Regions from separate parts of the Homo sapiens genome. Here all the other regions are linked to region 3. The links are contacts of gene promoters, found by promoter capture Hi-C in blood cells and fetal thymus (Javierre and others, 2016). All regions are on one chromosome and are shown on one strand. The core of a region is centred on a gene start or on the middle of the fragment in contact, and the rest is flanking DNA. Distances in the headings are between cores, read along the strand shown.

The links. Contacts are between HindIII fragments. The CHiCAGO score rates a contact against its expected background, and 5 or more counts as called.
Region 1: a fragment that was not itself captured here is called in contact with the fragment with the promoter of OR4D1 in region 3 in 2 of 17 cell types (M1 macrophages and M0 macrophages); the score reaches 5.6 in M1 macrophages.
Region 2: a contact is called between a fragment that was not itself captured here and the fragment with the promoter of OR4D1 in region 3, in 1 of 17 cell types (non-activated CD4 T cells). The highest score is 5.3, in non-activated CD4 T cells.

Annotation. Positions count from the first base shown.
Region 1 is chr17:58,456,454-58,459,403 of GRCh38, forward strand. It overlaps HSF5 (heat shock transcription factor 5), which reads right to left. Exons shown (of 6, transcript NM_001080439.3): 5 at 2,315-2,492. Among named protein-coding and RNA genes, the nearest start is that of HSF5, 30 kb to the right of the region's middle. The HindIII fragment of the contact is 2,581 bases long and covers 19-2,599 here.
Region 2 is chr17:57,855,032-57,858,300 of GRCh38, forward strand. No RefSeq gene overlaps it. Among named protein-coding and RNA genes, the nearest start is that of MRPS23, 6.6 kb to the left of the region's middle. The HindIII fragment of the contact is 2,085 bases long and covers 468-2,552 here.
Region 3 is chr17:58,146,792-58,149,939 of GRCh38, forward strand. It overlaps OR4D1 (olfactory receptor family 4 subfamily D member 1), which reads left to right and starts at 1,593. Exons shown (of 4, transcript NM_001386095.1): 1 at 1,593-1,793; 2 at 2,638-3,005. The HindIII fragment of the contact is 12,158 bases long and covers 1,117-3,148 here.

The sequences.
Region 1 (2,950 bases), core at 59-2,558, 310 kb after region 3:
AGTTAGATAGGAAGAATAAGCTTTGGTATTCTATTACACAGTAGCATAATTGTAGCAAATAACAATGTAGTGTATATTTCAAGACAGCTAGAAGAAAAGGTTTAGAGTGTTATCACCACAAAGAAATGATAAATGTTTAGAGTGATGGATATGGTAATTATCTCAATTTGATCATTACACTACATATACATGTGTCAAAAAATCACATTGTACCTCATAAATATGTACAATTATATTTAAATTATAAATTAAAAATAAAAATGGTTAAAATGATAAATTTTATGTTACATGTTCTTCAACACAATAAAAAATTAAAAGGAAAGAATATGTGCTCTACAGGCAGACAACTTAGGGTAGGATATTAGCAATATTAGTTTATATGTGACTGGCCATGCATGGTGGCTCATGCTCATAATCCCAGCACTTTGAGAGGTCAAGGCAGGAGGACTGCTTGAGCCTAGGAGTGCAAGACCAGCCTGGGCAACATAGTGAGACCCCATCTCTATAAAAAATGAAAAAAGGCAGCTGGGTGCAGTGGCTCATGCCTGCAATCCCAGCACTGTGGGAGGCCGAGGCAGGCAGATCACCTGAGGTCAGGAGTTCAAGACCAGCCTGGCCAACATGGCGGAAACCTTGCCTCTGCTAAAAATACAAAAATTAGCTAGTCGTGGTGGAGTGTGCCTGTAATCCCAGCTACTCAGGAGGCTGAGGCAGGAGAATCACTTAAACCTGGGAGGTGGAAGTTGCAGTGAGCCAAGATCACGCCATTGCACTACAGCCCGGGCAACAGAGCAAGACTCTGTCTCAGAAAAAAAAAATAATAATAATAATAAAGAAAAGGAAAAGGAAAGAAAAGAAAAAAGGGCCAGGCATGGTGGCTCATGCCTGTAATCCCAGCACTTTAGGAGGCCGAGGTGGGTGGATCACTTGAGGCCAGGAGTTCAAGACCAGCCTGGCCAACATGGTGAAACCCCATCTCTACTAAAAATACAAAAATTAGCCGGGTGTGGTGCCACGCACCTGTAGTCCCAGCTACTCGGGAGGCTGAGCCATGAGAATTGCTGGAATCTATGAGGTGGAGGCTGCAGTGAGCCAAGATGCGCCACTGCATTCTAGCCCGGGCAACAGAGAAAGACTCTGTCTCTAAAAAATGAAAAAATAAAACAAATTTATATGTGACTTTGAACAAGTTACTTACTCTAAGCCTAAATTTCCTGATGTTTAAAATGACAATGCCACTTCCAACAGATTTGTCCTATGGCACAAAAATGGATACGGTAAATGTTAGTTCCTGCCTTTCTCTCATCTAAATTGCCTTCAAGGCTCATGCCATTGTGTTAAACACCTTCAGTGGTAAGAAATCTTTAGTCTTTAATTATGGATTGGAAAATATAATCAACTAAAAGTGTGCAAGCTAAATTTAGTGAATAAATGATAGACAGTTTTTAGCCTAAAAGACATTTTGCAGAAAGAACCCTATGAGTCTGAGCTACACCATGATCATATCACTATTAATTTACTTTTTGGAAAAATTCTCACAGAAGTTCTCAACATTTTTCAAATTATTGTAGGTTAAAATGATGGTCTGTCATTTTAACCTACACTGTCATTCTGCCTGCACTGCATGCCCCTGACATGAACATAATTCTAGAATATTAAAATTGTCCACTGCAGACTTTGGTAACTTGATTTTTGGATGATATGAGACACATGTTTTATTAGATGTTACTATTTCTTCAAAAAATATGATTTTGTCTTATTAGAATCAACTGTATGTGCCTAAAACAATCACTTATTCTGGGTTCTTACAAACCACAAGAATAACAAACCATTCATTGGTATAGGGTCATACTTTATAGTATCTTTAAAATGCGCTCAGGATAATATCCTAAATTTCCATCTGATTTTCTCTTGTCACAATATAAATGCATGCCCTCTTGTCCTAGAGTCTGTTAATAACAGAGTAAGTACAACTACAATTTCGAAGTCTGGCATCTGAGGATACTTATTAAATCATCCTTCATCCTTGCCTTCTCCAAGTTAAATAATCTAAATTCCTTTGCTTATTCTTAATATGTTCTATATTTTCAAAGCCCAAATCATTATATGCAATATTAAGAAAATAACTATTACATACTTCACAACAATAATTAAGAACAAATATAGAGTTAAAATTACAGCTATGTAAAAACAGCAATGTGACAGGTCTAATACAATTATGAATAATAAATGGAGACCCAGAAAAAATGTCATTCATATATTAATTCTACAGCGTGATTCTACTTCTGGCATTCTAGAGCACAATAATCCTTACCAGGGGACTTTCCTTGTTGTGAGTTGCTTCTGTGCTCTCTGTATCTGGCTGGAGTGGCTAAACCTGTGTCTTCACTAGGCTTGCTAGCAGGCCCCATTTCTGAAATGAGGAATCCCATCTGTTCTGACGGCAAGATATTCTCACGTGAACTGGTCTGGCATTTTATGTTGGCATCCACCTAAAATATTAAACCCATTCATTATTTGAGATTTCCTCCAAATATCTGCTAAAAGTTAAGATATTTTATCAGAGGAGTTCTATTATGGGAACATGATCCAACAAACAAGCTTATAAGGCTTTTCATTCTTATTATTGATACTATACCTTTCTCCCTACACAAACTATTAAAATGTATATGGAGCTAAAACATTTACTTATGATCAGAGGAATATCTACCATGAAGCTTGTTGATTTTTTTTTAACTTACAAAAGTACAGGTTTTTTTTTTTGTTTTAAGGCAGGGTCTCACATTGTTGTCCAGGCGGGAGTACAGTGGTACAATCATAGCTCACTGTAACCTCGAGCTCATGGGCTCAAGTGATCCTCCTGAGCAGCTAGGACTACAGGTATTAGCTAATTTTTAAAAAGTTTTTTTGTAGGCCGGGCGCGGTAGCTCACAGCTGTAATCCCAGCACT
Region 2 (3,269 bases), core at 260-2,759, 290 kb before region 3:
GATGAAGGGCAGGGAGGGCTATTAAAGGAGGAGGCAGCCAGGCACAGCTGCTCACGCCTGTAATCCCAGCACTTTGGAAGGCCGGGGTGGGTGGATCACTTGAGGTCAGGAGTTCGAGACCAGCCTGGCCAACGTGATGAAACCCCGTCTCTACTACAAATTTAAAAATTAGCCAGGCATGGTGGTTGGCACCTACAATCCTAGCTACTCGCTACTTGGAAGGCTGAGCCAAGAGAATTGCTTGAACCCAGGAGGCGGAGGTTGCAGTGAACTGAGATCGTGCCACTGCATTCCAGTTGGGGCGACAGAGCAAGACTCCATCTCAAAAAAAAAAAAAAAGGGGGGGGGGAGTCAGAGTACCTTCTCTTTCCTTCCGGCTGTTGGGCTTGTGCCCCTCTCCTGAGAGCTCCCCTTCAGACCCCCTTCCTAGGCTTCAAGGAACTGTCAAGAATCAGTTCAGGTGGAAAAGCTTTTCAGCCCCCAGCACACACTCGGTAAGATCGGGTGAGTGCCCAGACCTGCTCCCTCCCTTCCTATGCTTATCTCTTTCAGGGCTATGTCTGTGTTGTAACTCTGTTTACCTGTCTGAGTCTGGCTACAGGGGCCTTTTTGAGGGCAGGAACTAGGACTTTTAGCTCTGCCTCCCCACACCCGGCCTGGTGCTTGGCCCACAGCTCTCAGAGTTTTCCAGTGAACAGCATGGATAAATAAAGCCAAGTTAGGACAAATGAGGATGCTGTCATCTCAGCCTTCCCTTCACTGCCTGTGCATACCCAGCCCTCCCTCTCTCCCAGGCCCAGCTTTCCTTTGAGGCCTTCCCCAGATACACAGATAGGGAGAGAGCTGTGGGTGAATGGAAATAATCCCCTACCTCACCATTCACTTCACATCGTGAGCATTTCCGGTCTGGCTGTCCTCTGTGCCTCACTGACAGATAGTTCTCTTTTACAGTCCTCTGGGCCTCAGCTTCATTTGTAAAGTGGGGATAATCATAGCACCTAGCAGAGGGTTTGTAGTGAGGCACCAGTGGGTTCATACCTGCTAAGTGTTTAAAACAGTGCCCGGTATATGGTAACTACTCAATAAATAGAGTGATGGTAATTTCGGACTACGCTTTAGAGCAACAGTGTCCTTCAATTAAATCTCACCTGAGGCTGGCTGCCATGACTCATGCCTGTAATCCAGCACTTTGGGAGGCCGAGGTGGAAGGATCGATTGAGCCCAGGAGTTTGAGAGCAGCCTGAGCAATACAGAGAGACCTTGTCTCTATTAAAAATCAAAAAATTAGCCAGGCGTGGTAGTATGTGCCTGTAGTCCCAACTACTCGGGAGGCTGAGGTGGGAGGATCGCTTGAGCCCTGGAAGTCGAGGCTGCAGTGGGCTATGATTGTGGCACTGCACTCCAGCCTGGGTGACAGAGCTGAGACTCTCTATAAAAAAAAAAAAAAAAAAAAAAAAACCTTACCTAACAACATACAAGCTACTATTTTCCTTTCCTCTTGCCTTTCGTTTTTTTTTAGATAGAATCTTGCTGTGTCACCCAAGCTGGAGTGCAGCGGTTAGATGGAATCTCGCTCTGTCACCCAAGATGGAGTGCAGCGGCGCAATCTCGGCTCACTGCAACCTCCACCTCCTGGGTTCAAGTGATTCTCCTGCCTCAGCCTCTTGAGTAGCTGGGATTACAGGCGCTCGCCCCCATGCCCAGCTAATTTTTGTATTTTTAGTAGAGACCGGGTTTCACCATGTTGGTCAGGCTGGTCTCGAATTCCTGACCTCAAGTGATCCACCCACCTCAGCCTCCCAAAGTGCTAGGATTTACAGGCGTAAGCCACCGTGCCCAGCCTACAAACTATTTTCATTTAGCTACCCACTCTTTTCTTCACCAAACCTGGGCTTGCCCCCAGGAAGAATCCAGTTCAGGAAGAGAACTAAGTACTTTATGCCCTGGGAGGCCTATGTCACTGTGACCAGGGAAAAAAGGGCCAGCTAGGCCTGGAGCAAGAAGCTGGCCTTTTATTGTTGGAATTCAAGACCAGTTGCAATCACTCTGTGGGGTTTTGCAGCCCACCAAACCCCTTGAAGGCATACATTTCAGGGCCAGTGTGGGCCCCTCTCTTCCTGGGGAAGCCACAGCAACTCGATCTTTAATATGCACATGAATTTGCTGCAGATCTTGGAAAATGCAGTGTGACTCAGTAGGTCTGGGTCTGCATTTCTAGCAACCTTCCAGGTTGATGCCAGTGCTGCGAATCTGCAGTTGGGATAACGAACCCACCCGAGTATGCCCACGACTTTCCTAGTTTTGGCACTGAAAGTTCTGCATCCAGGGAAACCAGGACAGTTGGTCGATGTATCCAAAGACCACACTTTGAATGGCAAGGTCAAAGCAAGGAAGCATGTGCTGTTTGTACTGAGTTTCATAGTTCCTCCCACTGGAGTCCCTGGAATAATCCTCTTGTCCTGATAAAGAACTGTGACTCTTTACGCTCTAGAAAGGCCACCTGACTCCAAGCCTCAGCTCTTCAGGGTAGATGCTGGTTTTGGGGGGCCTGAAGCTTATCTAATCTTAGTGGCTCTCTTAAGAAAAAATTTGACCAGGCGCAGTGGCTCACGGCCTGTAATCCCAGCAATTTGGGAGGCTGAGGTGGGTGGATCACCTGAGGTCAGGAGTTCGAGACCAGCCTGGCCAACATGGCGAAACCCCGTCTCTACTAAAAATACAAAAATTTAGCTGGGCGTGGTGGCGGGTGCCTGTAATCCCAGCTACTCAGGACGCTGAGGCAGGAGAATCACTTGAACCCAGAAGGCGGGGGTTGCAGTGAGCTGAGATCACACTGTTGCACTCCAGCCTGGGCAACAAGAGTGAAACTCCATCTCAAAAAAACAAAAAGAAAAGAAAAAATTTAAAATATCTTTGTTTTGCAAATTTTAGAAAACATATAACCATGTGAACAGAGTAAATTTCCCTCTGTCTCTTTGGCCTAAGGCCAAACAGGTGCTCGCATCTTCCTTCTGGGAAAATGGTGCTGGGTGTCTCAGTGGCCAGTGACTGCCACTTCTGCAAGATGACCACCAGGTGGCAGTCGATTTACACAGCCCCCTTCACATGCCCACCCTCTCCCGCCTGGCCACCTCCAGAAATTTCCAACTCTTCCTCCAGCTGGTGCAGCCCATTAATCCAACAAATTAATCTATGCTGTGATAATGGGCATAAGGAGTTCATGTGCTTCTCTCTCAATAGCATATTTGCCATTTAATGGAAATGCTGAG
Region 3 (3,148 bases), core at 343-2,842:
ATAAACAAAATTTATAAATGTTTAGCTAAACTAAGAAAAAAAGAGAAGAGGCAAATAAATAAAATCAGAAACATTACTACCAACCTTACAAAAATTAATAGGATTGTAAGAGAGTACTATGAGCACTATATGCCAACAAATTGGCTAATTTAGATTAAATGGAAAAATTCCTGGAAACACAAATTACCAAAACTGATTTCAAAAGAAATAGAAAGTCTCAACAGACCTATAACAAGTAAATGTTGAATCAGTGTTTAAAAAACCTCCCAACCAAGAAAAGTCCAGTACCAGATGGCTTTAGTGGTAAATTCTGCCAAACATTTAAAGGAGTATGAACACCAATACTATGCAAGTTCTTGTAAAAAAAAAAAAAAAAAACAGAAGCAAAGGGAACACTTTTTAACACATTCTATGAGGCCAGCATTATCTTGATACCAAAGCCAGACAAAGATACAAGAAAAGAACTACAGACCATATTCTTTATAAATACAAATGCGAAAATTATGAGATGCCACTTCACTCTCACTATTCTAAGTAAGATGGTTATTCCTCAAAAGATTAGGCACAGTTGCTATAAAATCCAGCAATTCCACATCTAGCTATATACCAAAGAAAAATGAAAGAATACATCCACACAAAATCCTATACATGAATATTCCTAGCAGCTTTATTCATAATAGCTAAAAAGTGGAAAGAACTCAAATGTCCGAGAGCTGACTGACTGATTTACAAAAGTGGTATATCCATATGATGTAATATTATCCAGTCATAAAAAGGAATGACTGGTACATGACTAGTACTGGTACATGCTACAGTACAGATGAAACTTAAAAACATAAGTGAAAGAAGCAGGACACAAAAGCCATATATCATCATATGTGTGTTATATGATTCAATTTTTAGGAAATGTCCAGAACAGGCAAATCCAGAGACAAAAAGTAGATTAGTGGTTTCCAGAGACTGAGGAGAGAACAGAATGGGCAGTGACTGCTAAAGGATATGAGATTTCTTTTCAGAACGAAGAAAATGTTCTGGAATTAGGTAGTGGTGATGGTTACACAAGTTTGTGAATATACTAAAAACCACTGAATGGTTAAAATCATTTAATAATTGTGAAGCTTATGGTAGTTGAATTATATCTTGAGGATGAACTTAGCCAATTTACATTGAGAGTTCACTTTGGCTGAGAGAAGAGCAGATCAGAGATTGGGATAAGAGATGGTACCTTAATGACTGTACATATGAAAAAGGCTTTGGAGTTTATAGAGGGGGTGACCTGGACTGTGTCCTAGGACATAACTCACTTTTCCAACTACAGTGGTGATAGGAGAGGGTGGAGGCCTTGCACTGCCCATGGTGCTGAGGGATTTGGTTCTTGTAAACCTCCCTGGGAATTCACGTCTCTTTAGGGTTCTTATCCTTCTTCATCTTGGTCCTTTGATCAGTAACTCTGAAATGTTGGCCCCAAGACAGTCTCCCAATAATTATGTGCATCTGATGCAACATCTCACATACTTTTTAATAACTCCCATTGCTCATTTGCCCTTAGCAGCCTGAGCCAGGCTTTATCTTATGAATTAAGCCTAAGTTTTACTCCCCAAGGAATTTCCCTTTCCTTAAGGCCAATCCCATATGTGTTCCTTGTCTGAGAGAGGCCAGGAGAAGAATGGAGCTACAGGAGAAGAGTGACCTGGGAGATGGGAGGCTCTAAGTCCTCTTGGCCACTGTGGGCTGGAGGAAGGTGATGGCCTCATTGTCCTTCCCATGGACAAATCAGCACGACAAAGCCTATCGTGAGACAAGCATGGGGTGGAGGGAAGGCATGGGGGAAGTCATCAGGCATTAATGCAAGGGGAACGGGATTTGGGAAACATTGATTTTATCTAACATTAAGACTTTTGTCTGTATTGGCTTATGTGCTGGGTGGAATTTAGAACAGAGGGTGGGAGGGAGAGCGGAATATAGACATACACTGTTATCTCCCCCGCCTCCCACATACATACTACAGCTTCTTCCCACACCTAGGAGAAAACACAAACAGGTCTTGCTCTGACACTTTCCACCCTCTACTGTTCCTTTTTAAGTCTCATCTTCCTCCATCTTCCCCCTTCTCCTGCCTGCTTCTCTCACTCACTCCAGATTTTCTTCCCTTCTTTATTGCTGTCCCTCCATCTTATCCTCTCTTTTCTTAAATCTTGTGTTTAACAATACCTGTTAATGCTCCCTGGATGACAACAGACTAGATTCTACCCCATTTTGGGAACCCACTTATTCCTTCTCCCCTCGTCTCTCCTAGTCCTGTGTGGGCTGATTTTCTAAGAGCAAAGACAGATGGGAGAGAAGATTGAGTAACAACAGAAGAGGTCTAGAATCCTCCCCTTTCCCCATACAGATCCATGTCCCTCCCTATGTCTATTTTCTTTCTTGTCTAGAATCCCTCTAAATCTATTTTCTATGCATGTAGGGGGAGGAAGCATTTGCAAAGATTCTGATGGGTTTGTGGAAAGAATCGGGCCATGCTAAGATGATGCTTCTAGGATTGTAAATCTGGTGATGCTGGGAATTAGGATTCTTGGATTCTCTTTGAGGTCCTATAAACTGCATTCTATCCAGTGGCTACTCTCTCTTTCTTCCCAGCTCTCACGGCAGTCTGGCCCATCCCAGCACCCTGTCCTCCATTAAGCAATCACACATTCTTTTGGGAACCAACTATGAGAAAGGGTCTGTGTGTACCACGTACTGTGTAATACTTAACATATTGGATTTGCACTGAAATTACAACACATGTGAGGAACAGAGCCATCCTCATGAAAAAATACCAAGGCATAGCAACATTATGGAAGAGCTAATTACTCTTGAACCTTGAAGGAAGGGTAGAATTCAGACAGGTGAACAGGACAGAAAAGCAATTCAGATGCGGCACTGACTGGATGAAGGCACTGAGACCTGAGGGACCGAAGAAGAGATAAGTTTGGCTGAAGCTGAATCTTCTTAGAGGAGAGCAGGTAAGAGGAGAATAGTCATTAGGAGTGCAAATTCTGGGTCAATCAGACCTGGCTCAGAATCCCAGCTCTGCTTCTTCTTCTCCATGTGATCTGGGAGAAATTAGTTAACCTATTCAAGCCACAGTTTACTTATCTGTAAAGTG